Linked DNA regions of Homo sapiens: all the other regions are linked to region 1. Evidence: promoter capture Hi-C in 16 types of primary human blood cells and fetal thymus (Javierre and others, 2016). All regions are on one chromosome and are shown on one strand. The core of a region is centred on a gene start or on the middle of the fragment in contact, and the rest is flanking DNA. Distances in the headings are between cores, read along the strand shown. Region 1 holds the start of LRRC8C (leucine rich repeat containing 8 VRAC subunit C). Region 2 overlaps LRRC8D (leucine rich repeat containing 8 VRAC subunit D). Region 3 overlaps LRRC8D (leucine rich repeat containing 8 VRAC subunit D). Region 4 overlaps LRRC8D (leucine rich repeat containing 8 VRAC subunit D). Region 5 holds the start of LRRC8D (leucine rich repeat containing 8 VRAC subunit D). Region 6 has its middle 17 kb from the start of LRRC8D. Region 7 has its middle 58 kb from the start of LRRC8B.

Evidence for each region. Contacts are between HindIII fragments. The CHiCAGO score rates a contact against its expected background, and 5 or more counts as called.
Region 2: a contact is called between a fragment that was not itself captured here and the fragment with the promoter of LRRC8C in region 1, in 2 of 17 cell types (non-activated CD4 T cells and activated CD4 T cells). The highest score is 5.1, in non-activated CD4 T cells.
Region 3: a fragment that was not itself captured here is called in contact with the fragment with the promoter of LRRC8C in region 1 in 1 of 17 cell types (total CD8 T cells); the score reaches 5.7 in total CD8 T cells.
Region 4: a fragment that was not itself captured here is called in contact with the fragment with the promoter of LRRC8C in region 1 in 3 of 17 cell types (non-activated CD4 T cells, monocytes and naive CD8 T cells); the score reaches 5.5 in non-activated CD4 T cells.
Region 5: the fragment with the promoter of LRRC8D here is called in contact with the fragment with the promoter of LRRC8C in region 1 in 8 of 17 cell types (monocytes, total CD8 T cells, naive CD8 T cells and 5 more); the score reaches 7.8 in monocytes.
Region 6: a contact is called between a fragment that was not itself captured here and the fragment with the promoter of LRRC8C in region 1, in 11 of 17 cell types (total CD8 T cells, activated CD4 T cells, monocytes and 8 more). The highest score is 9.1, in total CD8 T cells.
Region 7: a contact is called between a fragment that was not itself captured here and the fragment with the promoter of LRRC8C in region 1, in 8 of 17 cell types (activated CD4 T cells, megakaryocytes, M1 macrophages and 5 more). The highest score is 8.1, in activated CD4 T cells.

Annotation. Positions count from the first base shown.
Region 1 is chr1:89,630,836-89,635,261 of GRCh38, reverse strand. LRRC8C (leucine rich repeat containing 8 VRAC subunit C) reads right to left here and starts at 2,142. Exons shown (of 3, transcript NM_032270.5): 1 at 1,940-2,142. It overlaps LRRC8C-DT (LRRC8C divergent transcript), which reads left to right and starts at 2,368. Exons shown (of 3, transcript NR_033981.1): 1 at 2,368-2,605; 2 at 3,053-3,246. RefSeq lists enhancers at 1,171-1,220, 1,251-1,300 and a silencer at 1,681-2,340. The HindIII fragment of the contact is 6,667 bases long and covers 1-3,863 here.
Region 2 is chr1:89,874,154-89,878,579 of GRCh38, reverse strand. The region is part of intron 2 of LRRC8D (leucine rich repeat containing 8 VRAC subunit D); the gene reads right to left. Among named protein-coding and RNA genes, the nearest start is that of LRRC8D-DT, 55 kb to the right of the region's middle. The HindIII fragment of the contact is 670 bases long and covers 1,494-2,163 here.
Region 3 is chr1:89,855,104-89,859,529 of GRCh38, reverse strand. All of the region lies in intron 2 of LRRC8D (leucine rich repeat containing 8 VRAC subunit D), which reads right to left. Among named protein-coding and RNA genes, the nearest start is that of LRRC8D-DT, 36 kb to the right of the region's middle. The HindIII fragment of the contact is 172 bases long and covers 1,846-2,017 here.
Region 4 is chr1:89,835,343-89,839,768 of GRCh38, reverse strand. The region is part of intron 1 of LRRC8D (leucine rich repeat containing 8 VRAC subunit D); the gene reads right to left. Among named protein-coding and RNA genes, the nearest start is that of LRRC8D-DT, 16 kb to the right of the region's middle. The HindIII fragment of the contact is 1,450 bases long and covers 1,020-2,469 here.
Region 5 is chr1:89,818,489-89,822,914 of GRCh38, reverse strand. LRRC8D (leucine rich repeat containing 8 VRAC subunit D) reads right to left here and starts at 1,883. Exons shown (of 3, transcript NM_001134479.2): 1 at 1,624-1,883. It overlaps LRRC8D-DT (LRRC8D divergent transcript), which reads left to right and starts at 1,121. Exons shown (of 1, transcript NR_185885.1): 1 at 1,121-2,741. RefSeq lists silencers at 914-1,133, 1,005-1,214, 1,305-1,404, 1,505-1,854, 2,295-2,354. The HindIII fragment of the contact is 10,555 bases long and covers 1-4,426 here.
Region 6 is chr1:89,801,430-89,805,855 of GRCh38, reverse strand. No RefSeq gene overlaps it. Among named protein-coding and RNA genes, the nearest start is that of LRRC8D, 17 kb to the left of the region's middle. RefSeq lists an enhancer at 3,277-3,778. The HindIII fragment of the contact is 2,617 bases long and covers 1,289-3,905 here.
Region 7 is chr1:89,464,486-89,468,911 of GRCh38, reverse strand. No RefSeq gene overlaps it. Among named protein-coding and RNA genes, the nearest start is that of LRRC8B, 58 kb to the left of the region's middle. The HindIII fragment of the contact is 960 bases long and covers 1,433-2,392 here.

The DNA.
Region 1 (4,426 bases), core at 893-3,392:
TACTATAGAGTATTAAAAATCATAACAATTTGGTAAAAATTGAACACTTGGGAGTTAAACATATTTCTAACTTTGTATTGTTTTTTAAAAGATAAACTTCATGGAAATAAAGTGCAACATTTTCATTCATTTATCTTACAGCTCCTAATGCATTATTTTCACTAAAAGCATTCCCTTTTAAAAATACATTTCATTAAAGTGCTTAATCTGAGAAATAATAGATTAGTACTATTAATAAAGGCTTGATTTTATTAATAAGAAAATTGTTAAATATACTTGGTATCTCTGATACAATTGTTGGGTTGATGGGTCCTGTCTGTGCCCAATCTATTATGTGAACCATGGCAAATATCCATCTTTGCAAAACTGCCCTACATCCCCCTCAAAGGAAACAAACTGACCCCAAGACAGAACTTAATCACTCCAGAGTAAAGCAAACCAATTATAGCCTTGGCCTTCCCTGTTAAAGCAAGTCACAAGAAATGCAAATATCCTAGACTAGAGCTGTATACATTTAATGTTTGTTTACACACTCAACACATTGTTTATGAATTGAGCGAGTTTTATGCAGCTCAGATTACGTTTTGGGTTTTCAACAAATTATTTAAAAATAAACAGAATTTATAAATGTATAAAAATTATTGGCTCTGGCGATTTTGCAGCATTGTGCTAACCAAGAGGACTACTCCACTTTTACTCCTTTTTCGTCTAAATGGCATCTTAATGACCTGCCCACGCTGAAGCCTCATCGATGCTTTGGGAAACCATCACATACCTGTCGGGAAATGTGACTGTTGGTTAAGGCTACGTTTCTCACACTACCGCGAAAGAAGTATGTGACTTACAAACGGCTGCGATTTCCTTTACCTATTCCTTCCTTCAAAGGCTGCTTTAAATGGAGGTAATTCAAGCCTCCCCGTGCCAAACACCGGCACTCCAACAAAGATGGATTGGTTCTTATTTTTTACTTTGAGGATGGGAACCTGAAAATGTTTCCTAACGTTTGCTGAGGCTTTAACATGTTTAAGGAATTTGAAACCAAGGGAAGTTTAGCCGTAATACTCTGAAATATCCGCATTAGGATGCGGGCTAGGTGTCCGGCTGTTGCAAAACTACGGAGGATGCGAGGTTTGGAAGAAACTGTTTGGACTTTGCTGTATACCGGGCAGGCGTGGGGGTTGGGGAGGGAAGAACCGGCTGAGGGAGAAAAGAAAGGCATTCGTGTCCACAGAACACATCTAAGGCTCCTGAGTTGCTAACTCCATCCCTAATCATCTCATTGGTGGGAACCAGCTGGAAAGGGAAAGATCAGCGAGCCTAGGCGTGGGATGAAGGCAGCGGTTTTGGCCTCAACCGCTGGCCTAAACACCTGGCTTCTGGGGCCCGCCCGATCAAGCTGAACCCCTTCCCTCCTGTCCTGCAGGTGAGCACACGGTGCTCTCACGTTTCTTCGAGAAACCTTCCAATTCCTTTCCCTGCCCAAAAGTGCTAACTTCAAGGGTTCGGAGGTGGCAGGGGGGTGATAGACCGGAAAGGACTGGCCCCGGGGTCTCAGAGATTTTCGAGGTAGGAAAGAACAACGATCGCCCCGGCCACGGACGCATTTCCCCTCGCGGACCGCCCCCCCACCCCCGCGCCCAGTCTGCAGGACCTGCCGCTGCGGCGCGGCGTTGGGCGCCAGGCTGAGATCCTCGCGCGGCCGCTCGGGCTAGCGCGGATTGGGTGGGGTAGGGGTTGGCGGGCTCCTGAGCCGCAGTAGCGGAAGGTTCCCAGCACCACACGCCGGGCGGGCAACCACATTCTGCCTGTCTGAGAGCCGGGGGGAAGCAAGGACGCGAGTGAGGCGGGGCGAGTCCCGGTCCGGCGCGCACAGCGGACCGAGCGGGTGGCCCTCTGCGGGCTGCCCCTCTCCATCCCTCCGCGGATCCCCCGCCCTTACCTCCGGGCGCGAGAGTGTCGACTGGAGAAGGTGCTAGGGAGCGGCGAGCTGCCTGGGGGTCGGGCTCAGCGGCTGCCAGGGACGGCGGCGTCGCCCGCGGGGTCGCTGCTCATGGCTTGTCGCGCCCGAGCACTGCGGCCGCGGCCACGGCGGCGCCTTCCTCCTACTTCTCTTCGCGGGCTTCCAGCCGGGACGCAGCTAACGCCCCAGCCCCGCAAGCCCTCCTCCCCTCCGCCTCCCCGGCCGCGGACGGAGCCGCCTCCAGCGCCGCCCCGCACGCAGCCCGGCTAGCGGCAGCCAGCGCCGCCCAGCGCCCGGCCCCGGGGTCGCCACCGCCCGCCGAGTCGACTCCGCGGTGCCAGCCCCGCTGTGACGCAGGCCGCGCCGCCCGGGAACTTCCTCCCCTGCAGAGACCACCTCGCTCCCGGGACTCGCCAGCGAGGGATGCCGCCGGCCGCCGGGGGCCTTCTCCAGGACCAGGAGAGAAATCCTCTCTCCGCTTCACGACGCGGCCACTCCCACCCCTGAGACGCCCACCTGGCGGACTCTGAGGGAGGATTCGGCTGCGTCTAATACCACCTCCACCCCTCATCCCTCACAATGCGCGGAAAACCACAGGCGGCTGTGCGCGCAGCGTCGGCTCAGCCACCGCAGCTCCTCCCCTGGGTAAGTTAGAGGGGAGCAGCCACCACTAAAAATAGCCCTTCTGGGAACTCCTCCGAAGGCCAGGGTCAGGATGAAGATAACCCCTCCACAGGAGAAGCGAAGGCCTCCTAAGAGAAGGGTGGGGAGGGGACGGTGGGATAGAATGAGGAAGATGGAGAAGGAGAAAAGCAAAACCCAATATCCTTGGATCATGAAGCCCTTGAGCCCCTTGACAACCAAGTCTCCTTTCAGGCCGGAATCCCCAACTGCACCGCCCCTGCAATACGGGCTAAGGGGCAGATTCCAGGGAGACTCAGTTGGAATGCCCCGCCTACAGCTCCCGCATAAAGGAGTTGACGGTGCACAGCAAAACCACCTGTTGTTTAACGAGTATGGAGGGAGGGGTTCTCTCTCATTGATTGATCTGAACCGTGCTTTTCTTCTCCCCATTTTCCCACCCAATTTCAGGATGAAAAAGCACTCTGACGTCTTGAAAGCTGGCAGCTCTCTGTTTGGAAAATCTCTGCCCAGTGAAAAAATGTACCGACAAGATTACTAAGTAACACAGTCTTCTGGGAATGCCTTATCAATGCCAGCTATTTGAAGAGCACCCAAAGTCAAACTAGTGCTCCGCGCTGGCAGTCTGGAAAAGGCAGATGTATGTGAGTAGAGAAACTGATAGACAACTAGTTGCTGGCCAGTTGGCCTGTTTTCGTGCTACAAGCCTTCAGAAAACAGTCGCCTCCTTTTACCACGTTTCTATTTCTAAACCAAAATGAAAAGGACGTTTGTTCAAAAGATATTCTCTTGGGCTTTACATTGCTTTCCCCCTGCTCACTCAGCAAAATCCTACACTTTTTTTCCAATTCCAATGCTGCTGTTGGGTGTCCTTCCCAGAAGACAACCTTAAATTCTCTTAGGCCTTAGGAGCTGAATCTAACACCAGTCTTAATTAACCTACAACAAGACAAAAATTTAGGTCCGGGCTTACCTCCTAGTCAGCAGATGGGAAAAATTCCTAGAGAGTCTCTGGGAAAAAGGCAAAGGCTAACTTTAGCAGTTTGCTAGAAAAAAAAAAATTCAAGTACCTTGTAAGTCACCAGGGTAGATGCAGCAATACTCTCTAAGGTAGCTTTACCTCTTCAATTCTCTTACCTTACCTGAATTTAAACACAGTGAGGCAAGTACCAAGGTCACAACCCTCCTGTGGAGGGCCTTATTCTGCAAGGGCTCTCTGATATACTTCTATCTTTGTACCGTTGGCACCTGACCACAAGCTTAGGCATCCCTGAAATGCTCCCTTGCTACCCAGTGTCAAGGAATCATTGAACCTTAGACTTTGTACTCAGGTGAACCAGGATGAAATCCCTATTCTTCCAGTTTAAACTTAGGAAATTTACTGTTCTTTTTATCTGCCCCCTCCCCACCACCCACATCCCCTTATCATCCCTATAGGTATAGTACTACAGGGTGCTGTGAGAATTAGCTAATATGCTCAAAGCACCAAGAACAGTGCCAATCACTTTGTAAGTAGTCAGTAAATGAGAGCTACTATTGTACTTAACTACTCTTCACTGAAAGCAAAAGAACCAGGAATAGCAAAAAGGTTTGGAAACCTGGGATCTGAATCCCCTGCAAGTTGAGTCCACCCCAAGTTGCTTTATTGCAATACTTTTGGCTACTCTTGTGTCTGCCTTCTAATTGGATCAACTGGGTAGTTCTTCACGTGTAGGCAGGTGATTCACATGCACATTAATGCTTGAAAGCCACTAGTCTAAAAACTATGCTACACTGGTTAGTTCACCTCTTCTTATTTTGTAGCATGTAAACCTTAAATCTAGT
Region 2 (4,426 bases), core at 579-3,078, 240 kb before region 1:
CTCATTCCTTCTGCTCTAAGTACAATGAGTCCATGGAAACTCTAAGCAAGTTCAATGCATCTCAGATACATTCAAACACAATCCAGAATTAGAAAAGACAACCAACAGAACAATATGGCCTAGAGAATGGGACTACTTGCATAAGAAAATACCTCTTGCCATCTAGCCAAGGGCTTTCTTCTCATATTATGTACTGATCAACAGGTGTTGGCAATGCCATCTTACAGGTCAAAAAGGCAGCTTGATGAGCAACTGTTGAGCACATAATACCTGCTGAACACTCTGCTGTTCGAGCCTTGGATAACAGATCTAGGCACTATAAAGTATTTTCACATCACTGCTGTCTCAGAAAACTTAGAAGCAGATTTTCAAGAAGCTGCACTCACTGGCTTCTGGGAGGTTTTTAAGTGATATTGTTTATCCACTGCAAGTCTATGGAACTAATTAGTAAAAAATACTGAAGATGAAAGAGTTAAGAAATAGCCACTGGATTTTAAAAACCCATAGTGACATGATTCTGAATTTTCTTTCATTTTTCAATTTCTATCACTGCTATCATTTACACAAACAAAGGGAACTCGCACCTCTCAAACAGTTCCTGCCAGTCCTGCTCAGCTTCTATAAAAGGGAAGGCACCAAGCATACTCATGTTAGGAGATTCTGACACGTCTCAAGATAAAATAGAAACATACTTCCTTTCAAATATTACTATGATTCCTGCTTAGGAACAAGAACTAACACTAAGAAACAGTCTGCTTCTAAATAAAAATGCCTAGTTTATTTTTGAAGAGTTTCAGTTATCTATAAAAGTTTACAGTGACCATCAATAAAACCTAGACAATACCATACCATGTATGTCACGTGCTGGACCCAACCGTGTTAACTGTAACAAACCTGCGTGGAAGGAGGTGAACCACCGCTGGTCCCTAAATTAGGAACAGGCTGCATTAGCCACGTTTTAGGAACAGGCTGCATTAGCCAGGTTAATATACAAATTACTCTGAAATTCAGAATCCACTTTCCTTAAAACAGAAAAGGGGGAGTGGGGCAAATATGTAAGGATTATTTTCTTAGATTAGGCCACAAAAAATCATGAAATAATAATAACAATAATTAAGAACAGCAAACACTCACAAAGCTTTTACTATGTGCAAGGTATTTTTAAAGCACATACACACTTAAAGCTCATAAAAATTTTAAAAGGTACTGTTATTATCCTTGTTTTGCCAATGAGGAAATTGAGGCAGAGAGAAGCTAAGTAACTTGACCAAGGTCAAAAAGCTGTAAGTGGCAGAACTGGATCCCTACAAGTAACTCTTAATAAACACAAATTTAAAAAAAAAAAAAGAGAGAGAGAGAGAAAGAACTGTTTGAAGTTTCTTCTAAAATATATCCTATCTAGATGTTCCTTTCCTTAGACTCCCTCTTTCCAGAGGCCTAAAGCAGACCCTTGTCATATTTGACATTTTACAGCCAATCCCAATCTGAAAGCTTCACTTTAGTTCTGCAGTTCTGCATTATCCAACATGGTAGCCATCAGCCAAATGTGGCTATTGAGGTTTAAATTAATTTTTAAAATTGATTAAAACCAAATAATATGAAACTTTCAGTTACCTGGTCACATTTTCCACACTTCATGTGCTCACTATCCAAACTTCAAGGGCCAGTGGCTACCAAATTGGAGAGCAGATAGAAACTTTTCAATCTTCATGTAGTTATTTGGTAAGCTATCCAACAAACTTTGTCTATAAAGGACCGAATGCTAAATATTTTAGGCTTTGGAGGCAGTATAGTCTTTGTAACAACTACTCGACTCTATCAGTGTAGTGCAAAGCATCCACAGACAATGCATAAACCAATGAATGTGGCTATGTTCCAAAGAAACTTTATTGCAGAAACAGGCAGCTGTCCTGTAGACCACGGTTAACTAACCCTTATTCTAAATGACTCTGGAGTTTTCACATGGATTTTCCCTTAATATCTGATCTCCCACTACCCTGCCACCTCTCTGCTCTAACCAGGCAGGGAAAGAATTCCATCAGAATTACAGAACCTCTCTGCACTCTCTGTGGAGACAAACCTGTCTTATATAACTCTTTTCTTCATCTCTTTCCCCTCACACGGGAAGTGCACATCCTCTAACCCAGTAGTTTTTAAGAAGCTTAAAATAGAGATTTTTGGGCCCCATCTGCAAAGCCTGATTTAGTGGGTCTGAGGTGGAGCCCAGGAATCTGTATGGTAAATGAGCCCCACGGTGGTTTTAATCCTGGGGGTCCGTGGACCACAGTATAAAAACACTACTTGCCATTTAAATAGTAGGTAGGAGAATGGATGAAGAGGATACATTCTTTTCTAGTAGCTGTAATTCCTCAACCACAGAGAAAAAGCTATCACTTAACCTCAGCCCCAGGAAAGTCCAGGTGTCAGCAGAGCAGACGAAGCTTCCAACGGGTCCAGCAGGAAAGAGCTCTGAGTGGATGGAAGCCTGGAGAAGAGTGGTATCTGCCTGGCCTGGGAGGTAGAGGTATTAGGAGCTTTTCAAAAGGACCTCAGGGGCTGACATGCTCCCTACCCAACATGATCCCAAAATATGGAGTCCCACCCTATCTGGTGTTCCTGAAAGCAAGAGGTGGCACTAAGAACCTTTAAGAATCTTTATTTTTTAAATTCCTTTACAAACTGATTCATTCATTATTAGCTGTGACCTTGCGGAAGTTCCTCAACATCCTGGTGCCTCAGTTTCCTCATAAAATGAAACAGTATACAAAGCGTTCTTGTGAAAATCAAATAAAATAATATTTGCAAGGCACTTAGAACACTGCTTGGCATAGAGTAAGTCCTCTATAAGTGTTTGTTAAATAAATAAAAATTTCATTTAAACATTTAATAAGCACCTTCTATGTGTTGGGTACAGTGTCAGATGACAACATATAGAAATAAAGAAGACCTTAAAAGAGGTGGAAGTTACACTGTTGTATATGAAAGGCTTTCTCTGACCATGTAACACCCCCTTCTCTCATTGCCCTATCTCTTTATCTTGCTTAATTTTGTTATTAGCACTTATTAAAGGATATCTAATAGATATCCATGAAACACATGCTTATCAGACTCATCTACTATATGGTCTTCATAAGGATAAGGATTTTGTTATATTCACAACTGTATAATCTAGCTTCTAAAACACTGCTTGGCATTCAGCAAATGATCAAAAACTATAAAATAAATGAATGAGTGAATGAAGAACATTTAATGGACACCTATTATGATATTTTGTAAAGACCAGATAGTTAAATGTTTCAGAGCTTCTAACTTTCAATCCCATGCATATTTTAAAATTTGAAATCTAGTAAACTTCTCCCATGTTAAAAAAAATCCAACAGCAATGCCTGTCAAAAAGGCATTTGTATTTTCAATCAATTCCAAAAGATTCTACCGGGCTACTTAACCTGTACAAAATAATATTGGTTTGTAGCTTTATACAGGTTTTTTTTATCCTCATATTATTCTTGAGAAGTAAGGATGGGATAGATATTCCCCCCACTAAATAATGAGACAACAGGTAAGAGAAGTTGCCTCGTCCAGATACAACCAGATCAGCAACACTGAATGATTCAAATTCCCATTATAGGAACATATTCCCACTGTATAGGAACTACTGCAATGACAATCATGGTAAAGTCTCAGTAGAACTAAGAATTAAATGAATTTATGAATAAACATTCTCACTCATCAATTCAGCCAGCCTCTTCTTCCACCAACTTCTTAACATTTTTGGATTACTGCTTAAGTCATTATTCTTACTTTTATCTATGAACAGCAATTATACTCCTTAAATGCCACCTTTTGGCTACGAGTCAATTCAACATCTACAATTCAGATTATTGCAATACTTCATCATTGCTAGATAATAATGACATCCTTTGTCAATACATACTGAGTGGAGAGGAAGGCAGAATCCATAGATAAATGGCAACATGTGGACCCTATCCTTACTAAGCATGGGTTTTTGTTCTTTTTTTAGGTGATAAAGTCACTGAAGGGTAATAGTAAACTTCACTACTCCTGACATAATGAATCCAAATATTATGCCCCACTTACCACACACACACACACACACACACACACACACACACACAAATAGTTTCTTACTTCTCAAGGAATAATAAAGGAAAACAGATTCACACTTCGAGGTCATAGAATCCAACTCCATCTCATTATAGATGAGAAAACTGAGTTCCAAAGAAGTTAGAGAACTAGTTCAAAGCTACACAGCTAGCTTCTGGCAGCACCACAGCTAAAACTCTAGTCCTCTGCCTCCGAATTTAGGGGTCTACAATTATGAGCTTGATAAGCCACATAAACTGGCAACTCTTCCTCCTAGTTTTTCCCTTTATGATGTTTTCAGCTTTGTGTAGGAGAAATTTAT
Region 3 (4,426 bases), core at 682-3,181, 220 kb before region 1:
CCCATTCACAATCCTTAACCCCGAACCATTTCTATTTTCACAGCTATACCTGAGGAACAGAGGCAGATAAATGTTATAACAACAATTTCGACAAGTTAAAAACAGACGAAAGGGTGCAATGTCAGCAGTCAAAGGCACCAAGGCAACATAGGTAAATGCTTAGATAAATGTGTTAAGATAGTAACAACTCCTAGAATTTTTATCATTGTTCGACACTACTATCTCCGTGTATGGAGTCTCTCATTTGAAAATGAGCTTAAAAAAAAAAAAAGAGTCAAATTACCTAGCTTTGCTATTACCTACCATTACTCCCTACATTTACCGAATAGTCTACTATTATGACTTGTAATGCGAATTTAAAAATTCAATTACATTTCAAGCTTATCTTAATAAGCATCCCAGAAATTTGATTTCTGACCCCTCTACTTCTTATAAGATATCTCACCAAAAATTTTGTAAAGAAAATTTATTAAATTTACTTATAATCCCTTAAATAACAATTGTTTATATTTTGTGTTCAATTGTAGACTTTAACATAGCTGTAATAATCAGTGTATTGTGAATGAATTCTTTTTACATTTATTTTGTAAAGTTTTCTAATTGTTTTATTTATGTCAAAATGTTTAATTCTATTAGTTTTAAACAGAATGTAACTATGACTTCATTTCTTGTCTTAAATGAAATTTCCTTGTTCTAACAATAAGCTATATTAAAATGGAGGCCTACAATTTTTGACCTGGAAGTACAGAAAAAGGCATCTGCTTTTATAAACTTCCTTCTCTCAGAAGACTCAAAAAAATTTCACTTGTCATTTGTTCACTTTGATGCAGCAAGTAAGGAAGGAAAAAAAAAAAGTCCAAAATTAAAATTATATTTACAAAATTTTATTTACTAAAATTATACTTACAAAACTTATAACTTTCTTGAAAACACCTGTAAGATCCATTAGTATTAAGACAACTTTTAAAGAAATCAACATTTCATCTGTTTGCACTAAGTCATGCCACTTTCTTAAACCTTAATTGGGGTTTGGTTTATATGTAAACCTCTAAAACTTCAGAAGATATAATTAACATCATGAGAACAGTAATGGTAATTTTCTCTAATATTTCACAAGGTGGGGAGGTGAGTTCCCTGAAATCCAGATGGACCAACAGCCTCACATTAGCTATCATCTCTTCACCTATTACCACAGATACTACCTGACATCCCCTCTCCACCCCACCCAAAAGGAGATATTTCATAACAGCAAACAAAAAAAGTATTACAAAGTTGTCATGAAAAGCTATACTTTTTTTGAGATGGAGTTTCACTCTTGTCGCTCAGGCTGGAGTGCAGTAGCGTGACATCTCTGCTCACGGCAATCTCTGCCTCCCAGGTCCAAGTGATTCTCCTGCCTCAGCCTCCTGACTAGCTGGGACTACAGGTGCTTGCCACCACGCCCGGCTAATTTTTGTATTTTTAGTAGAGACGGGGTTTCACCATGTTGGCCAGGCTGGTCTCGAACTCCTGACCTCAGGTGATCCACCCACCTCAGCCTCCAAAAGTGCTATGATTACAGGCGTGTGCCACCTTGCCTGGCAAAGGCTATACCTTAAAGTGGTTTTCAAGTGCTCTAATCCTACTCATTATTTTTTGAAAGATAGTGAAGAGCAAAAAGACATTCTACTTAGAGGAGAACCTCAATAATGCAGAAATAGTGGGGCCTGGTTAACTTTACATATGTAGAAAACTTTATGTCAAACCACAGGGTAGACTGATTCCAAGTCATTCTGAGGATTCAATTTTCATTGTGTAGGCACAGAAGGTATAGGACAGGGGCTGACAACCTTTCCAATGCAAGCTTAAAAGCAGTAAACCCCTTTCCTTTTTCCCACTAGTGGAGTGCAAGTAATTATGGGATAATGTGCTTATCTCAAGGTGGAAGCAGAGAGAGGGTATACATTTTAGAATCATAGATTTTCAGCTTATTTCGCTGTGATTTACCTCTTTCTTTCTCACCAAAATGGAAAAAGCTTTGTTTCTGATTATAAAATACCTGCTTGTTATTTTTTTTAAAAATCAGATAATACAGAAAATTATAAAAAGTCAAAATCACCTATAATCTCCACTCAGAGATAATTACTTTTTTTTTTTTTTTTTTTTTTGAGATGGAGTTTCGCTCTTGTTGCCCAGGCTGGAATGCAATGGTGTGATCTCAGCTCACCGCAACCTCCATCTCCCAGGTTCAAGCAATTCTCCTGCCTCAGCCTCCAAGTAACTGGGATTACAGGCATGCGCCACCACACCCGGCTAATTTTCTATTTTTTAGTAGAGACGGGGTTTCTCCATGTTGGTCAGGCTGGTCTTGAACTCCCAACCTCAGGTGATCCACCTGCCTCACCTCCCAAAATGCTGAGATTACAGGCATGAGCCACCGTGCCTGACCCCGATAATTACTCTTAATGTCTTGTTGAAAAGCCTTCAAATTTTTTTCTACGCATACACATACATATGTTTTGGGGTATTTTTTTGTTTTAAGAAACTAAAATCAATTATAAACTCTAGGGTAATCACTAAAACCTTTTTAAAAAGAAAGTATAATTGACATTCTCAAAGAGGAGATAAAATGGAATTATATGAAATGTTAACTTAAAACCACAGTAGGCAGTAAATGTGGGGGGAGAAACAGAGCATATGCAATGAATAGAAAACAGTTACAAGCGTGGTGGATATTAATCCAACTGTATCAATAACCACTTTACATGTAAATTACCTAAACACACCAATTAAAAGACACAGATTGTCAGAGTAGATAAAGAAAACAAGACCCAAATATATACCGTCTACAAGAGACCCATTTTAAATATAAAGACTTAGGTTTAAAATACCTAAGGGATTTGAAAAGGAAGCTAAGATCATAGCAGTAAACTGCTTGGAGATCTGATTTTCTATCTTTCTGTGAAAGACAAAATGTTTACCTATTTTACAACATTTGAGGAATACAGAATCACATTATTTGACACAAATTAATGACAGATGAATACTGCAGGCATATACTGCTCCCTCATCTTGCTTGTATCCCACAAATAAAAATCTGCCAATCATAAGAGCATTTACTTTCTTTCTTTAAAATAACCTCTCATATCTTATTTCTGGAAATAGAGAAATATTAATAAATGCTGTTATCCTTACCTGAGAGTGTGTGTGTGTGTGAGAGAGAGAGATTACTGTAGCAGATGCCTTTTTCAATATGGTTCAGTGTTCAACATGAGCTGCTAAACTTTTGCTACTAGCATAGCTATGCAATTATTTACTGATCTAGCAAGTTTAATTTTAATTCTAGATGCTAAACAGATAAAAAAAGTCAGCTGGTTTTCTACATTCTTCCTAAATTTAATGCCCAAGAAGGCTATTTTCCATTGCTGTATATGTAGTATGTTCACACTCATCAAATATATCTTGAAAATAGGCTCTTTCAGACACACTAGATAGTCACATTAGGCTAAGACAATTTCAAATATGCCAAAGGTACATTCTGAATTATACATACATATCTTGATGCCACAGGCAACAAAACAAACCCCCAGAACTAGCATTAGACTTATTTTTGTGGTTAGAAAAATGACTAAAAATTTCCCATTGTGTGATGATGCGTGAATCTTTGATCTCTATTGGTCTGACTTCATACTCAGGCTACTTAGTTTATTTTGAGAAAGCAATCTTTCCTGTTGTTTCTCAGGAAATGGAAGAACATATTTATGAACAATGTTTTAACTTTCAGTTTAAGTGGTTTTAATTTTTTAACTATTTTCACTTTGAAGAGTATATAATTATGTGGAGAAATTAAGACTCTCAAAAAGAAACTAGAGCAAAGAGGTGGAGAGGCAATTGTATAGTCAGACTTCAGCTAAAAGGGTGCATTTTTAAAAGATGCCTCACAAAAACTGTTACACCCTGTTTCTTCCTGTGAAGAATTTTCCAAGCATTAAGTTGTGTAATAGCTTAATGGGGGAAAAGGAAATTCCCAGGTTTCTCTCAAATCGGCATGAGCATAAAGAAAGATTAGAGGCTTAATTTACAAAGGAGTGTCCTATCACCTGCTTAGGCTTGTTAAATTATTACAATAATCTCTGGAGCCACTCATCTGACTGGATTCACCTTTTAATGCTAACCACACCTTGAGGGCTTTAAGATGTTATCCCTGTTCTTAAAAGGGGGCTCAGACAGTTAAATGGCTTTGAAGAATAAGTACACCTTCCAGAGGAAGAATACAGCCAACTCAGAAGAGTGATGAAATCCTTCAAAATCTATAGGCAAAGACATTCAAGGTGCAGTGATGGAAACGGAAAGGAGAAAGGACTCTTAAGGTAAGATCCTCTGAATACTTATCCTTCTCCAACTGTTCGATTCTCTTCTACAATACTACACTTTTAACAAAGAGTGA
Region 4 (4,426 bases), core at 495-2,994, 200 kb before region 1:
GCACTATCAGCCTTCACAGCAGTGTCCCTACCTTGTCTTCACCTCCGGGGTAGCACATGCAACAGGATTTTCTGGGAAGGAGGTCTCTGGCACTCACATTCACTTCCTGGTCTCTGCAAAACCTGAACCATGGCTTTCAAGGAAGCCTTTCGCAGAGCCAACTGGCTGGCCTGATTGGCATTTACCCATAGAGGATTATTAGCCATCTTTAAAGAACCAGAGTAAGTGTCATTTCACATGACAAAATGCAGCAAGGGGTCGCAAATCATGTTTAAAAAAAAATATGCCTGTAAGATAGTTTCCTGATTTTGAGAAAGCAAGAAGGAAAGCACTACTTAAAGCACCCCACAGCATGACTTAGAAGATCCAACCACCAGGCAGGTAGGGCCAGGGTGGCTACAGGCCTGAGCTGGTATCTCTCTAAGCTCAGTGCTCCAATTTCCTCAGCTTCCAAACACACACAATGAACCCACACACCTTGCACAAAATTACTAACATTACATAGGACAAACCCTCACAGGCCCTGCCTCAATGAATTCTCAGAACTACCTTCGCAGGGAGGTGTCATTATTAATGTGTTACAGAAGCAGCAGCAGGGCTCACAGATGTTAAGTGATATTCTCAAAGCCTTAGGTAATGGAACGAAAACTCACCCTGGGTCTGTTCTTCCTTCTTTTAATTGAATAGAAATGAGTGGGTGCATTTTGGCTGTGGATATATTATTCTGCACTACATATCTTTTGCTCAGAAAAAAAATCCCACTTTAAAAAGATAACTTGTAATGCTCTCTCTCAAGTGCATCATACACCCTCATCACCTCGCCAGATTTTGGTAAAGTGTAAAGGATAAACATGTATTTTGTAATAGGTCAACTGACTTTAAGCCATAGGAATATAAGTAGATATAAATTAGGTAAAATATGCACTTGAGCTGCAGCTGGATATTATTTTATAAAATAATAAGACTGATCCACTGATCAAACTGTGATAAACAAAATCTTAATACATTTTTTCCAAGCTTCCTCTCTCATTCTTCAATTAGTATGCAAAAAAATGCATGTAAAGTAGGACATGATGGTTGATGTACTGGGATTTACTAGGCATAATACTGTGAAAGAAGGGTAAGATCCCCCAAAATTCTGACTAAATGCAAATACCTGTATAAAAGACTGTTCAAAATGCTCCCAGCACAGACTGCTAGGAATGAATAGCCTTGGATTATTTAATGACTGTTGATTTTGATGTGTATTACATAGATGAAATACTGTCCTATAATTCATTCTTCTTTGGAAAGCATGTTTTGTCTGTTAATCTTCTGTGGTAGTATCTGCTTCCTTATTTGAAACATTGTTTTAATTCTCTTTGGGCAATCTTATTTATCTTATTTTTATTTTTGAGACAGAGTCTCACTCTGTTTCCCAGGCTGGAGTGCAGTGGCACAGTCTCAGCTCACTGTAGCCTTGTTCTCTCAGGCTCAACCAATCCTCCCACCTTAGCCTCCCCAGTAGCTGGGACTACAGGAGCTCGCCACATCCAGCTAATTTTTCTTTTTTCCCCCCTTTTTTTTTTTTTTAAGGGACAGGGGTTTCGCCATGTTGCCCAGGCTGGTCTCAAACTCCTGGACTCAAATGATCCACCCACCTCGGTCTCCCAAAGTGCTGGGATTACAGGCGTGAGCCACCACGCCTGGCCTGGGCAATCTTGTTTTTTAAATAACATATTAAAAAGCCCAACAATGTAAAAGGGTTGGATCCTAAAAAGTCAAATAAATATAATGTTCATTATTAAGAAGTGTTCTTAAAAATGACTTTCAGAGTTCATAAGGAATAAGTCACACACATCATATCTTGAATACAATTCTCCATTATACATTATAATGGAGTCTACACGAAGAAAAACAATTCATGAATAATTTAAGGTTACAAAATTAGATACTTTAAATTTCATCTCCTTTCCTTTGCCTGTAGTGGAATAGCCAAGGCAAATAGCACGAAAGAGAAACGGAGTACCTGAAAACTCCAGAAACTTTATTATGAACTTTTAATAGCTTATTCATCAATTTTTTAACTAACCCTAGTTTAATAAATGCCAAGCACTTTACATGTATTAACACTTCAATGATTCCTGACAACAACCCTATGAGGTAGGAGTTATTGTTATCTTCATATTACAGATGAGAAAAGAGACATGGACATGGAGATGTTAAGTAATTTGCCCAAAGTCACACTGCTAGTAAATACTAAAACTTCGATAGCCTGGCTGACCAGAATCTACTTTAACCAACACATTTTCTTACCCATAAGACCCAATTGGATTGAGTTTGCTTTCCCTTGTGTGAAAGTTCATGAGGTACAGTGCCATAAATACAGCAGAAGAAAAGAAGTGGGGAGGAGTGGGGTGAGGGGCTCAGAGACTTTCCAGTTTGTAGCAAGAATGTAACCACTTGTCTAGGGGCACTAGGCTGAAAGCTTTAGGAAGTCAGGGATGCAGAGCCTGGGCCACATTGCTGAATAAATAAATATTAAGAAGGAAAGAAAAGGTATTTGCAGAATGAAAAGGCCAGGAGGAAGGGCTGCTTCCTCACCTTGACCAGAATCCTGGATTTCAAGGCTCCAGGATTGCCTGGCTACAGCACAACTGAATTAGCAACTGAAAGGAATGCAGTGAACCCATGTACTTTGATCTTGGTAAAGCAGTTGATACAGTATCCTGTGAAATCAGGATCCTAAATCAACCAAAACTTATGTTGTTCCAAGAACCACACAAGTTAAGCAGGCTAGAAACAAAAACACTGGCTACATCTACTAGTATGATGAAGAAAAAGCCACAAGGAACGGAATTCAATCCGTATTCAAAAGTAACTTGGAAATTACTCACGCTGTTTTAATCAAATTTGCACATAACATTAATTTGGGAGGTGTGAAGAGGGCAAATGAGGGCGAGCCAATTGACTTAGTTAAATTAGCAGAGAGGTGAAGAAAAACAGAAGTTCAGTTTCATTTTTGTGTCCCCTTTAATTTGCAGGGAGTGGCTATGGATGTCCAATGGGTAGTAACCACCTCTAAACCTAAAATGCCAAGACTGAACTAAGTAAGCAATAGCAAATAGATACATGTTTAAAATGTTAAGACTTCAGGTCTGAACTTCACAGAGCATGATCGTATTATTCCATACACTATCAGTAAAGTTCCATGGGAAATAATATTCCTTTCAACAAGACTTCGTTAGGAAAACCCAAAGAAAAGAAGGGGCTCAAAGGCTGAGTTTAGGAGGTCAGATGAAAATGTCAGTGGCGTATGTATAATCTGGCCCCACTACAAATATGCCGCACAGGCAGAAGGTCATGAGAATGGTTTGCAAACACATGGCAGGACAAAGAACAGTAGAGAAGGCAGAGAGAAGCAAGCTAAAACTTGAACTAACATTATTTTTTTAAGCATAAATTATAATTTCTAATTTCTTTAATGTTGAGAAATAGCTTATCCCTTGGTAGAACTATCTGTCCTCCCAGCAAAAATTGTATTTTAAATGTTAGCAGTTGATTTAGAACTAACAAATGAGAGTAAGAGAGCTCTGAAACATTTGAAAAAAAAATGACCTATATTCAGGCTGGGTCCTAGGAAATGTAAAAGTGAGCATCATTTCATGTAGCTCCTAAGAGACTGAAGAACTGCACTATTAGCTCTGTAGCCAATATGCAGGAAGAGATTCTTGACCAGATATGGGTTTTAAGTATGTCCTAGCAGGCTTGTTCATGGGAGGAAAGCATATGTTTCTAGAAAATAAAAGGCTCTGAAAGGAAAGAGGGTCACTGAATAATTAAAACTTTCTAATATGTCACCCTTACTACTCTCAATCATAATTTGTACAGTTATTTTTTAAGGTGAAGCCCTCAATACGCGAGCAATGCAGGCAAGGAATACCTTTAGGTATCTGCAGAATTAATGACAATAATAACAGCAACAGCAGCTAACACGTGAGTGTTAACTATGTGCCAGGAACTGTTCTAAGCATTTTATATAAACCATCCTCACAACTAACCCTAGGAGGTAAATATTATTGTATCTTCATTTTATAGTAAGTTAAGTAACTTTCCCATGTTCCCATGGCTAGAAAGGCAGAGTAAAAACCCAGGCAGTAAACTACAGAGCTCATGCTCTCCAAGAGATTGTCATTGAAGACAGGTACAGCCCACAATAAAATCCCATATATTCCTCTGCCTTCTAAAAGAAACAGCAACAAAAAAGGAGAAATCTAGCACAGGGGCATAAGGATTAGAGCCATCCCACATTCTAGATTTGAACAGGAAATACATGTGAAAAACTTCAGCCAAATGACAATGCTCTGAGAGATTACTGTTTAATACTTACAGAGGACAAAAAGCAAACCATAGAACCTACACAGACAGAACTTCCACAAAGTTTGAT
Region 5 (4,426 bases), core at 634-3,133, 190 kb before region 1:
CTTGCACTTGGATTTTAACAGGGATTTAGTTAGTTGGTGTCAAGACAGATGAAGCAAGAACCCCAACTCTCGCCTAGCTGACAGTAGGTGTTTGGTCACTATTTTTGGACTGCAAAAATAAATGCTGCCTGAGGACCCCATTTACAGGATATGGTGCAGGGTTCTTCCCACAGGTCTGTAAGAAGCAGAGGTCCCAGATGCTATGGCGAGGAAGGTCTGATCACTCTCATTCTTGGCACTGGGAGGGGCCCCTTATTTGTTTATAAGGTAGACAGCCCTCATCATTACTGCAAACGGGGATTCCCTGCCTGTCCAGACTCTTCCAAAGTCCGGTACAAACCACGTAATAGGTGCTCAATAAACGCTGCCTGTACGGAATTTTACTATCAAAGCTGCCAAGGAAAGTTTCCAGAAATCAGCTCTTCCAAAATATGTCCTCAGAGTTTTCTTTGTCCAACAAAAAAATATTTTTGAAGATCCAAGAGCAGGAAATCTGCGAGGCAACGAGGAGCCAAATATAAGCCAAGCGGCTCCAGCTGGGCCCCACATTCCGCTAGGACTCCCCAGTACCTATTCCCCATCTCTCCGCCTACATCCTGAGTGCGCCCTCCCTCTCATCTCGGCTGTTTCCTTCCCACAACCCTACCTCCATACTTTCGGCCACACACACCCCAAGTGCGTGCTCCTGGAACCTCACAGCCCACCTCTCCCTCTCCAGCAAGGACCTACCTCTCTTCCCCTCGACCTGCAGCAGTTCTTCTTCACTGCAGCTGGCTTTTTAAGAAATCAAAAAATCTCATTTATCTGCAAGGGATACCCCCTAGTAAAGGGTGACGGAAAGGAGAAGGCCCCTATCAACCCTCCAGTAACTGGAGGTGCTGGTCCTCCCGGCAACCACCCCCAATTCTCCTCCTTTTCAAGCCCCTGGACAGGATTTGAGCAGAAGTCCCGCTCCCAAGAGCCCACGCCTCCAAACAAGCTAGAAGCGGATTATACCGGTACCCAACCCGGAGACGGCCCGCGGACGGCTGGGTGCACCTGCGGGCCCCCAGCTCCCTCCCACAGGCGCGGGGGGCGGGGCGCGGGCCTTCACCTCCCCGCCCCCGCCCGCCGGGCTCCCAGCGCAGCCCACCCTGCACAGGAAGGAAGCGGAGGGGAGGCGATTCTGGAGAAGTTAAAGGGCTCACCTTTGGACGCCGGGCCAGCAAGGCCAGACACCAAACACCCACCTCCGGGAGGAACCAGCAGAGCCGAAACCGGCTCTCCCCGCCTTTCCGATAGGGCGGAGGGAGGTGAGAGAAGGGAGCGCGCGCGAGGGGTTCAGGAGCCAGGAAGCCGCACTCCCCTCCCGCAGGGCCGGCCGCCCGGGGCCGAAGCGGCCGACGCTCAGACTGCAGAAAGCGGAACAATCTCCCAGGCCCTGGCGGCAGCAAACGGGAGCCCACTCCGCTCGCCGCCACCTCCTCCCGACCCCCGGACGTCCCCGAATGAGTTCCCGGCCGCAACCGCAGCTCGGGCCGCGGCGCCTGCGCCAGGGTTGCGCGCTCCGGCTCGGCGCGGCTCCACCTGCGCGTCGCCTTCCCTCGCAGCCCCCGGCCCCTGCCGGGAGAGGTGCGCACCAACCTTGGGGTGCAGCTCGGCCGCCAAGCCACGGCTTATGCTGAGGCCGGAGGTGGCGGCATCACCCGCGGCGGGCGGCGGCTGCACCGGGACGCGCCGGGGCGGCGAAGGCGCGCTGCACCCTGGACCCTGCTCCCGCGGCCCCGCCCGCGGCTGCCACCTCGAAGCGCGGCGGAGGAGCCGGGGCACCACGGGCGGCGGCAGCGGCAGCGGCAGCAGCGGCGACGGGAGCAGCAGCACATGACTCTGTAACGAGGGGAATTAGACAAAGCGTAACATGGACTCCGGGCCCGTGCAGGCGCTGCAGCTCTGGGACCAACCGCAGCCGGCGAGTGCCGCGACTGGCCCGGCCGCAGCCAATGGGGCGGGCCCGGGCCTCCATGTGATTGCGAGCGCTTTCTCCGGTGGCCCTGCAGCGCCTGACCGGACGGGGTCTGTGTGGCGAGGGAGGGGACCCGGGGTTGGAGACTGGCGGCGAGCGACTGCTAGATGCGGAGCAGGTGCTTGGGAGGGGAAGAACGGCAGCCTACATAACCATCGCCGTAATGCTCTCGCAAGCGTCCACCTGGGCAGGGCTCGGTGCCGGGCAGGCGCAGCTGCCAGTTAGCTGCGAGGCATGGTCAGGAGCCTTCACCCGTCCTGGGCGAAGGAGGCTGTCCCGTCGACTAAAACTCTGATATTAAGACTTGGCGCTGGGGGTGGGGAGTTGAATTACGTTAAAAAGTCACTTAAGTGCCTTCCAACTCTAAGGAGAAGTACTTATCTGAGCTTTGGGGCACACACAACTACTACTTGGCATGGAGAGTTTCTCAGCTTCATGTGTTCCGTCTGTTATTGAAGCTGTATTGGAAAGTCGGTTCTTGTTTTTATCTGAGCCCGCCGTTTTCATCCCATTCTTTTCGTCAAAAATATGTTACATCTGAAAGAGGCAGATGAAAAGATTATTCTATGCTAAGAGGGTTTTGCAGCCCGATAATGTCACCGTTTTTTGTTGTTGTTGTTGTAGGATCGGGGTTCATTTGCAGTCTTTTTTGTGGGTGAGCAGAGGCAGGGGCCAATAAATAAATTAAGGCGGGATATTTGGAGTTATTTGGTTGTAATAAAATATGTGGTTCAACCCAGTGCTTTCATATCTTCTTTTATCTGAATCCATGTGTTTCTGTAAACCATCGGAAGTCTAATCTGTCTTCTACCAATATCTCTCCATGTCAGCAAATGTTCAATCAACGTTTACCCAGCATCTAAATATTCTTAATAAGCATGCTGCACAAATGTTACAGGTACTCAGGAAGGTGTCGGTTCAGAGACAGTGAGACATTAAAGAGAATGATTGTCCAGGGTTTCAGAAAAGGATTCAGAGAGGAGCTGATAGAATTGACCCTTGGATGGTGAGCACTTGGCCCTCAGGCATTGGACGTGAAGAAGAGCAGCCCAAACAGGAACATGAACAGAGAGGTCCAGAATACACTCAAGGGACTGCCCGAGACCCGTTACAAGATGCCACCAGATTCTGAGCCCTCGGCCCTTTTGCTCTCACTTTCCTTCCCCGACCCTCCTTGCCAGCAGCCACTCCTGTTCCACACACTGCCAAGAAGGAGGTGTATGGGCAGGGAGTGTGTGTAAGTGATCTAATCAGTGTCAGATTTGCTGATCTAAGAGATGAGAGGTCTTTTAAAACTTAACAACTAGTGGTGTGATATTTTTATTGAAAACAGCCCACTATTATAATGAATATGGAATGTTTTGCTGTTTGTAAAAAAAAAAAAAAATTATAGGCCGGGTGCAGTGGCTCACGCCTGTAGTCCCGGTACCTTGGGAGGCCGAGGCAAGAGGATCACGAGGTCAGGAGTTAGAGACCAGCCTGACCAACATGGTGAAAACCCGTCTCTACTAAAGACACAAAAATTATCTGGGCATGTTGGCACGCACCTGTAATCCAAGCTACTCAGGAGCCTGAGGCAGGAGAATCGCTTGAACCTGGGAGGCGGAGGTTGCAGTGAGCTGAGATGGTGCCACCACACTCCAGCCTGGGCGACAGAGTGAGACTCCATCTCAAAACCAAAAAACCAAAAAAACCAATCTTCTGTACTTTGTTCTTTTGATCTTCCCTGGGTTTTAAATTGTGATTCTAGACTTGAAAAACATGATTTTAAGATTGGTATAAATCGAGAAAAGAAAAAAGTGATATTCAGAAAACAGTCAAATGTGGAGAAATAGACACTCACACACTGTAAAAGTAAGAGGAAATTGGACAAACCCCTTTGGAGGACAATTTGGAAATTTTTGATAAATAGGTGTGTTCCCTTTGAATAGGTAAGTCCATGTCTAAGAGTTTGTGCTTTAAGCATATTTGTGCAAAAATTATGTCAGAAATATTTACACATGTACAAAAATATATATATACGTGTCTTATTGCAACATTGTTTGTAATAGTGGGAACATGTAATGGTGTAAAAATCAAATAATAAAGTCCCAGTAGGAAACTGTTTAAGCAAATTTTGCTAGATCTGTAGAAGGAAACCATAAGCAGCCATTAACAAAAATAAGCTAGATCTATTTGTACCTACATGGAAGGATGTCCAAAATCTATAAGTGAAAAAAAAGGAGGCTGCAGAACAATATGAATAGTATGATTCCATTTTTTTGTACTTTTTTGCATTAAGATATACATGTTATTAAATGTATGCTTCAGAAGAAGTCTGGAAGCATATATAACAAGCTGTTAATGGTGATTATCTCTGGGTGTGGGATTACTAGGGCCTTTCATCAAGTTCTGTATGTTTGAATTGTTTTTATATTGAGCACA
Region 6 (4,426 bases), core at 1,348-3,847, 170 kb before region 1:
GGCAAATCATATCATTAGAAGAATGCAACAAGAAGTATTTTGCCAAGATGAGGTTCACAGACTACCTATGTCAGAATCAGCCAAGATCCTTGTTAAATATGCAAGGATACGATCCTAGACTTTGAGAATCATAATTTCTTAGGGTAAGTTCTGAATATCTTCAAGTTTGACAAGCACCCTTGGTGATTCTGATGCCTATTAAGGTTTGAGAACCATTGTCAGCCAGTATTTATCTGGCACCTACTATGGTTCAAGAAGTCCCTACAGTCAGGATCAGAGAGGAGAGGTGTAAGGGCCACAGGAGGTGTCAATGCAGACCCTATGGCATGAAGGTTAGGTGGTCTCAGAGGAGGAGGAAGAAAAGAGGATGTTTCTAGTAAGTGAGGTTGGAATAAAGTCATTTAAGAGAATCCAGAATGAAATATTTATGGACAAAAAAAAAATTACTGTGCTGGCTAGAATGGAAGGACAAGGTTGTGGAATAACAGTTTATTTATTTATTTATTTATTTTGGAATAACAGTTTTAACTAAAGAAATTCTAAGGAATTCTGCAATTGAAAGGCATTTATTAGACAATAGGATGTTATTACATACTCTTCAGTAATCAAAGCCTTATTGCTTTGAAAATGCTATTGGTAGGAGTTAATAGTACACTACTTTTGCATTTATGACCCTGGGCACATCACTTAATTTCACTGAACCTTGATTTCTTAACCTATAAAGTGGAGATTAATAATACCTACTTTTCAAGGTTGTGAGGATTTAATGGTATCCACATGAAAATCCTATTCTGGACTAATGCTATATTAAAACAAAAACAAAACCAAAACCAAAATACAGAGACCCACACAGACACAGCCATTTTCATTGCCCATCCTGTGGCTTGTGACATCGGATCCATTGATAATACTGTATCTTTTTACTGTTTATTTCTTCTCTTCTTGGCTTCCCTTTTTGGTCTCCAGCTGCTCCAGGAGGCTTCCTGCTTGTGTAGCCAGCCTTCTCACGGAGCGCCCTCTAGTGTCAGATGCTGTAATGACTCATTCTGTCTGCACAGTTCAAGTTTCTAATGCAAGACACACTGTGCTTTGAAGGCTCTTGTAGCCTACATAAAAACATCTTTAATAGCAAGTTACACATCAACACCGAGGAAAAATTACTTTATGACTTTACAGGCATAATATTAATGACTTATGAACAAATTTATTATTGAAACAAAATCTTTTGGTAAATACTGTGCAGGTTGAGGATAGAACTCAGGAACCAATGATGCTTCATCCTGAAGCTTCCTCTTTCATGATTCCAAAGCAACTGGCAAAATGTTTCCCTCAAATGCTTTTTAATGATGATGATTTTGCTTACAAATTTCTTCTTCTTCTTCTTCTTTTTTTTTTTTTGAAAGAGTGGCAAATATTGAGAGTCTGATTTCTGGGGCCAGTTCTGTTATTGGATAATTGGGTGACCTTGGTTAAGGAATGCCCCCATTCTGGATCTTAGTTTCTGAAAATTAAAAATGAGATCTGTAGACTCCATGATCACTCAAGTCTCTTCCAGCACATGGTTCTTTGCTTATATGCAGAGGTGGTGAGAGGAACGGATCTCACACTGGGACAGGAGTCAGAAGACCTACATTTTTATTGGTGTTCCAATATTTACTAGTTCTGGAAACTTGGTCAATCATTTAACCTGTCTGGGCCTTAGTTTCTTCATCTGCAAAATGGGAAAGAGGCCTTTTCGGCCTTATTCACAGAATTATTAAGAGATTCGAGAAAAGATACTGTTCACAAAATACTTTGAAAATTACAAAGTGCTATAGAAAATGCAAGGTTCAAAAATAAAGACCTTGGCCCACTGCAGTGGCTCATGCCTGTGATAATCCCAGCACTCTGGGATGCCGAAGCGGGCAGATCAGCTGAGGTCAGGAGTTCAAGACCATCCTGGCCAACATGGTGAAACCCTGTCTCTACTAAATATACAAAAATTAGTTGGGCATGGTGGCACATGCCTGTAGTTCCAGCTGCTGAGGAGGCTGAGGCAGGAGAATTGCTTGAACTGGGGAGGCAGAGGTTGCAGTGAGCCGAGATCACGCCATTGTACTCCAGCCTGGGTGACAGAGCGAGACTCTGTCTCAAAATAAAATAAAGACCCCTTCCAGTCATCTTTTTACAAATGATGCACGGAAATTAAGGGCTTTAAACACAGACTTATGTCAGTTTTATTCCTAGTCCCACCAGTTAGTGGCTTCTGTAAATTTAGGTAAATCTAAGCCATATTTCCATTAACAGGAAGAGAAGTCGACATTGTTGTGGCGATTAAATAAGAAATATATGAAAGGGCTTAACACAAGGCGTGGCACATAGTAAGACATCAATATATGGGTGCTATTATTTTTCTCTAATCAATTTTATTCTAGCTCTTAATGGGTAAAGTAGCTAAGGAAAAAAGTTAAATGATTTTTCATTTAATCAAAACCTCATTCCTAGAACCTTTTGTGGAATTTTATTTATTTATTTAGGAACAAGGTCTTGCTCCAGCACCGACGCTGGAGTGCAGTAGCACATTCATAGCTCACTGTAGCCTCTAGTTCCTGGGTTCAAGCTATCCTCTTGCTTCCGCCTCCTGAGTATCTGGGACTACAGGTATGCATCTGTATAGCAGGGTGATTTTTAAAATTTTTTGTAGAGATGGGGTCTTGCTATGTTTCCCAGGCTGGTCTCAAACTCTTGGCCTCAAGCCATCCTCCTGCCTTGGCCTCCCAGATCTCTGGGATTACAGGCATGAGTCACTGTGCCCGGCCTGGAATTCTTTTTAGACCTGCTGTTTATCTCACGTCCTTAATTCTAGGAATGTGTTATGTTAATGGGAAAATCATCAGAAGGCCTCAGACTGTGTAAGAATGGCAGGTTAAGGTACATGCTTTGTTTAGAGGTTTTTCTGGTAATGTACTTAAATAGCCAACTCAGAAATTCAATATCCTAATTGATTTAAGAGGCCAGTGCTACAAAAACAGGGTGATTATACAAAAAACTCCCAATATCTAGATTCTCTGGATTTGGAATTCTCTGTCTGCTGGACCACGGTGCTCACAGATCTGGCACCGGCTTACCCAGCATACGCCCCTGTGCTCTGCCAAGTAAAGACTAAACATCAGGACCGGTGGCAGGACAGCCTCTCCTTGTCACTGGGTCCTCAACTCTGGTTGAGGGCATCACATCATATAATTTGAAAATAAAAACAAAACACAGCTGGAAGCCCAGTGAGATGCTCTGAGCCCATTGCTAGCGCTGTGGGCTCTGGTAGGTGCTGCTGGGACTGAGTAATGAAGATTTAAATAGGCTTGTTCACTTTGATTTCACAGCCATCCCTTCCATCTCTGTTAGACTTGTGTAAGCAACTGAGGCAAATGCCCCATGGGAGCTAGCTGGCACTTTATCTCAAAAGCATTTAGAGGGCTGATGGGAGAGGTACTTCCATATCAACAGAGGTACTTCCATATCAGTAGTCCAGTGCTATTTCCCCTGGCTTTTGAAAAACAACTCTCATGTTCAAGCTGTGTAACAGAAAGGGATAGCTCAGATTGCCAAACAATACAGACAAAAGAAGCTCTGGGCCTCCCTCCACTTCTTTCCTAGCCTGGTCTCCCTGACTACACAGGAGTCCCTCGAGGAGGACAATGAGAATCACATGGAAGAACAGGTGCAGAGAGTTGGAAAGTGATGGAGCAAGCCGGCTCATTCCTCCCACATTTCTCTTGTTTTTAAAATTAAGACTCCTGCAAACAATATGTTTAGTGTGATGTGCATTCAATTAGAAGCAGAGTGACCAGACAGTGGTGTTTTACAGCCATGCAGCTGCCAAGCCGCCACTCCACCAGGTGAGGAAGCAGAAAAGTCATGTCCAAGCTTTCCTAAGTGCTCCCTCTCCACAAAGGGCATCAGGGCCTCTTTGCACATTGTCCCAAACAAGCTCATCGAAATGGGCCTCTCTGCTTTCTGAGGTGCTTCTTGCTTTGTGATATCCCATGAGATGGGTCAGAGAGGACCAGAAAGGAGATTGTCACTGAAAGGGCCTCTTTCTGCATTTTAAATCCTCTTGCTTATGTAATTAGGAAACCAAACACTTTATAACAGGTCAAGGCCCACCAAACTCTAGTATCTATGACATAAATAATAAGCCCCTTCATAAACAAACCTGCCTTTTCTGCAGAAATCCGCTGAAGTTAGAGAATCTAGATTCAAATCCCAGCTCAGCCACTGATCAGCTCTGTGATTTAGGGTAAATCCTCCAGGACTGTAAACAGAGAAAGTATCTTCTACCTTCAAAACGTGGTTATGAGAATAAAAATTAAAATGTGGGCTGGTTTATGCAAAGGCTGTGGAAATTGAAGGGGATGTTTAAGAGTGCCTGCCTGGCCCTTGGTGCACA
Region 7 (4,426 bases), core at 663-3,162, 170 kb after region 1:
AGAGAGGTAAGGGGTAAATAATTTTGGAGCCAACTATCCCAGCTGATAATGCATAACTAAGACCTTCATTACTCTTTGCTCTTGAAGACAGAAATTTTACCTTATTCATCTTTATAGTTTCTCTAACACACAACATTATCTGTCAACTTCATGTGGCAGGGCATTCATAATTTTTTTTGCTAAACTGTACTAACATATTCCAGCTAGAGTCAGCATGAGAAATAATCTGGAGACAATTTTTGAAGCTCCTCATTATTTCACAGATTCAGTTATTCCAGGTTAAACCATGCCTTTCATTTACTGAGTGTTCTAAATATTCTTCTTTGCTTTCTCAATATGGTAACAGAACACAGAGAAATGTACAATGTGAGTATTCTCTTTGTTTTTTAATGTCAATAACTTCTTTTAGAACTTGAAACAAACGTGTCTGTTTTGTCATTTATTAGTATTCAGTCCTAATTTATATTTATAATTCATAAAATGTTTTATTAGTCATTTCAGAATTTGATAAAAAAATAAACCTTTTAGGTATCACCATTATACTCATACAATCAGTAAGGAAGCATGCTCAGAGTTTAACCATTCAGCTAGTGCATGGTGGAAGTAGGACTTAAACTTTTGTCTTCCAACTTCAGGATGTGTGCATGGCAAGGGCTTCATCAGGAAAAAGCAACTTTGGGGATGTATATGAATTTAAATCATTCCTATTACCTTGAATAAGTTGAAATGATCCTGCATATTTCAAAATGTCTAATTAAAACACTTTAGAAACATCTTTTTTTTTTTTTTGAGGTGGAGTCTCGCTCTGTCACCCAAGCTGGAGTGCAGTGGCGCTATCTCGGCTCACTGCAAGCTCCGCCTCCTGGGTTCACGCCATTCTCCTGCCTCAGCCTCCCAAGTAGCTGGGACTACAGGCGCCCGCCACCACGCCCAGCTAATTTTTTTTGTATTTTTAGTAGAGACGGGGTTTCACCGTGTTAGCCAGGATGGTCTTGATCTCCTGACCTCATGATCCGCCCGCCTCGGCCTCCCAAAGTGCTGGGATTACAGGCGTGAGCCACCGCTCCCGGCCAGAAACATTTTTTAAATGTACCACCTGTGATTCTTCAGCAACATTTATGATTATTTTAAATACACAGGTTATTAATTCATAATCAAATTGAACTACAATGCTAGTATAAAAAATTGTCAACAAATAAATCTATCATTAAAGGAAATTTTTTTAAAGTTGTTCCTTTGGGGCTAGTTAATGTATAACATCTTGAAAGTAAAATTATTTTAATTCTAGCAAGCTAACAATACTATATCAGGTTAAGAAACTATTTTGACTACAATATTGTCTTTACTCATAAACACCTATCTTGGCATATAGAAAATTTCATTAAAAAGACTTTTTTTTTCCTTCAGCAATTGATAACCACAGTACAAAGCTTTCTTCCACTGTTATTTTAAAATATAAACCTGGCTTGTAGCCAACACCAACTAACTTGAGACAGAGCGGGAGGTTATTAATGTTAAGCAAATGGAGATTCAATCCTGATTTTCAGAATTTGTTTCTATAAAGCAGAGAATTACACTCAGTATGAAAGTACCATGCTGTTTTTTTTTTTTTCAACCAAGCAGAGGTATGCCCAGCATTTTAGAAACCACAAAATAAACACAGAGACTTTTGTACAAAATAAAGAAGGATATATCCATTTATCATTGCAAAGAAGGGTTCAAATATTTTTTAACTCTCATCATGACTTCTTGTAACACATGGGTCATTTAAAATATGTGTTTTTATTTCAAGCTCCTTTTCATTACTGATTTCTTAATTTATTGTGGCCAAATATATACTCTATATGACTTTGTCCCTTTGAAATTTGTTGAGAATTTATTTTGAGGCTCTGTTATTACATACATAACAATTTAGAGCCGGAGGAGAGAGGATCAAAAAACTACTTATCACGTACTATGCTTATCACCTGGGTGATGAAATAATCTGCACATAAAACCCCTGTGATAGGCAATTTACCACATAATAAAACTGCACATGTACCCCGAAACGTAAAATAAAAGTTAAAAAAAATTTAGAAATATTTTGTCTTTCTCTTGAATTAAAACATTTATTTCACAATGGCCATTTTTATCTCATTTCCCTTTTGCTTATCTTCTTCCCCTTCCTGCTTCTCCTTTTCTCCCCTCTCCTTCTTCTCCTCCCACATACCATACATACATTGTTCTAAACAAACCAAAAGAAGTTGCATTTTACTTACAACAAAAGTTAATCCAATTGCTCTGAAAGAAAATTTAATGATTTATAAAACCCAGGTCAGTCTCAAACAAAAAAGAACCCATGTTACATTTCCACGTGACTCCACACGATAGGGGCATTCAGGTAGTAGAAGCTTAGTGGTATGGCCGGTTTGCTATGGCACACAGCTCTTTCTTTGTGGTTGATGATGTGTCTACTAACCACATAATATCTTCATTACCAGTATCACAGAGGTATCACCAGGAAAACTACTTGTGTGACCTGTCCTAACACAATAATTTTTATTTTTAATTGTTCTGGATTTATCCTTCTCACAGAAGTTTCGATATTATACTGAACTTCATTCAGGACAAAAGGATGCTTCCCTAGCACAGCAGGGATGTGGTTTTGTGGTTTTAACATGAGTTGATGGACTGGCTATTATTCTAGATGCTGTTATCCATGATCAGGATTTGCTACAATTGTCATTCTGGACAGCTATTGATTAAAGCCTCTTTGCTTACCAAAAATAGAAAACACACGTTTATTGAGCCTTCATCCTGTGCCAGGCCTTATAGAAGTGTACATCACAGAGGTATTTAGTCCCCAATTTGTTTTGATAGTTCTGTCTAAACTTTTAAAGAAGAAGCCAATTTGGATAACACAAATGGTCATTGCTCAAGTAAAGCTGAAACACCCTGTCATTTGTATGTTCATAAACACTTGCAAAATACTTTCTATGAGTTCCCTAACCCTCAGGATGATGCCAGGGGCAGGTATTATAATTAAGAGCTTCTAGTAAAGGGAGTTGAAGTTTAAAGATATTAAGTGATTTTTCCGAGATCCCTTTAGTGGTGGTAGAGTAGGGTGCTGAGGCATACTGGAAAGGGCATGGCATCAGAGAGACCTGAATTCAACTTCCACCGTCTCTGTCATTTCCTGCGTTACCTTAGACAGGTTCCTGAAATATATCTGATCCTGTTTTTCATATTCCTTGGCTTTGACATGGGGTTCTTGATGGGTTTAAATTAACTAATGAGTGTGGAAGTGTCTGCAACCTGAAAAGTGTTGTCAGAGTGTGAGTCACTCTTATTTAATCTTTAGGTAAGTGATTACAGTGTCACAGACCACATTTCAAGTCAGACAGAACTAGTTGTAACTAGCATGTGCTGCATGAATTTGAGTGTGTTACTTGAGCTCTCTGGGTATGTGTCTCCTCAGCTGTAAAATATGTGTCATAATGCAACCTTGTGTATTGTGAATATTGACCAAAGCCACAGAAGTGAAGCTGTGGTGCACAGCTCACAGGAGGCACTTGGTGAATGTCAAGGCTTCTCTTTCTAGAATCAGCCCAGTGTCTGTATTGGGACAGCACCATCTCCTTAGGAGAGCACTGCCTGCATTAGTCTAGCACAGGAGATCTGTAATGGACTATGCGGGCCATTCCATGGATAAGTAATCTGACCTAGAGAGGTGAACTGACTTTTTCAGGTCATAGAGCTAATGGCAGAGTTGAGAGTTGAACTGCATTCTGATTTCAAATTCAGTAATTTTTTTTAACATTATTAACATTTTCAAAATTCAATAATACATTTTAAAAATTGTCCTTGCCCTGTAAAAGTGATTTGTATTAAGAACACATTCGTATATGTAGATAGCATTGCTAGTGCAGGTGAATCAAACCTGAATTGTTCTACATCACAAATAGCCAGTATAGAAGTTTAAGTGCAGAAAGATTTCTTTGTATATCTTGGGGTATTCTCTGTAACAGAACCACAGTGCTCCCTTGGAAACAAGGTGTCCACTTTTAATGTCTACATTTTACTTGATTTTAAATTCTCTATAGCTATTACTTCAGAGACTTATACTTGTTGACAGCTATGTGTAGTGGAAAGAGCCTAGCACTGAGGCGGTCAAGAGATCTGGATTCTAGTTCTGGATTTGGCATTACTTAGCTATTGTTCGCTGTTGGAAATGTAACTACTACTCCTATGACAGCTTGAAATATCTTGAAGTGAATCTGAATGATTTCTAAGTGTATTAGTTTCCTGTTGCCACTGTAACAAATTACCACAAATTTAGTGGTTTAAAGAACACAATATAAACTCTTACAATTCTGGAGGGTGGTCAGAAGTCCAAAATGGGTCTCATGGGGCTAAAATCAAGGCATTGGATTCTTCTGGAGTCTCT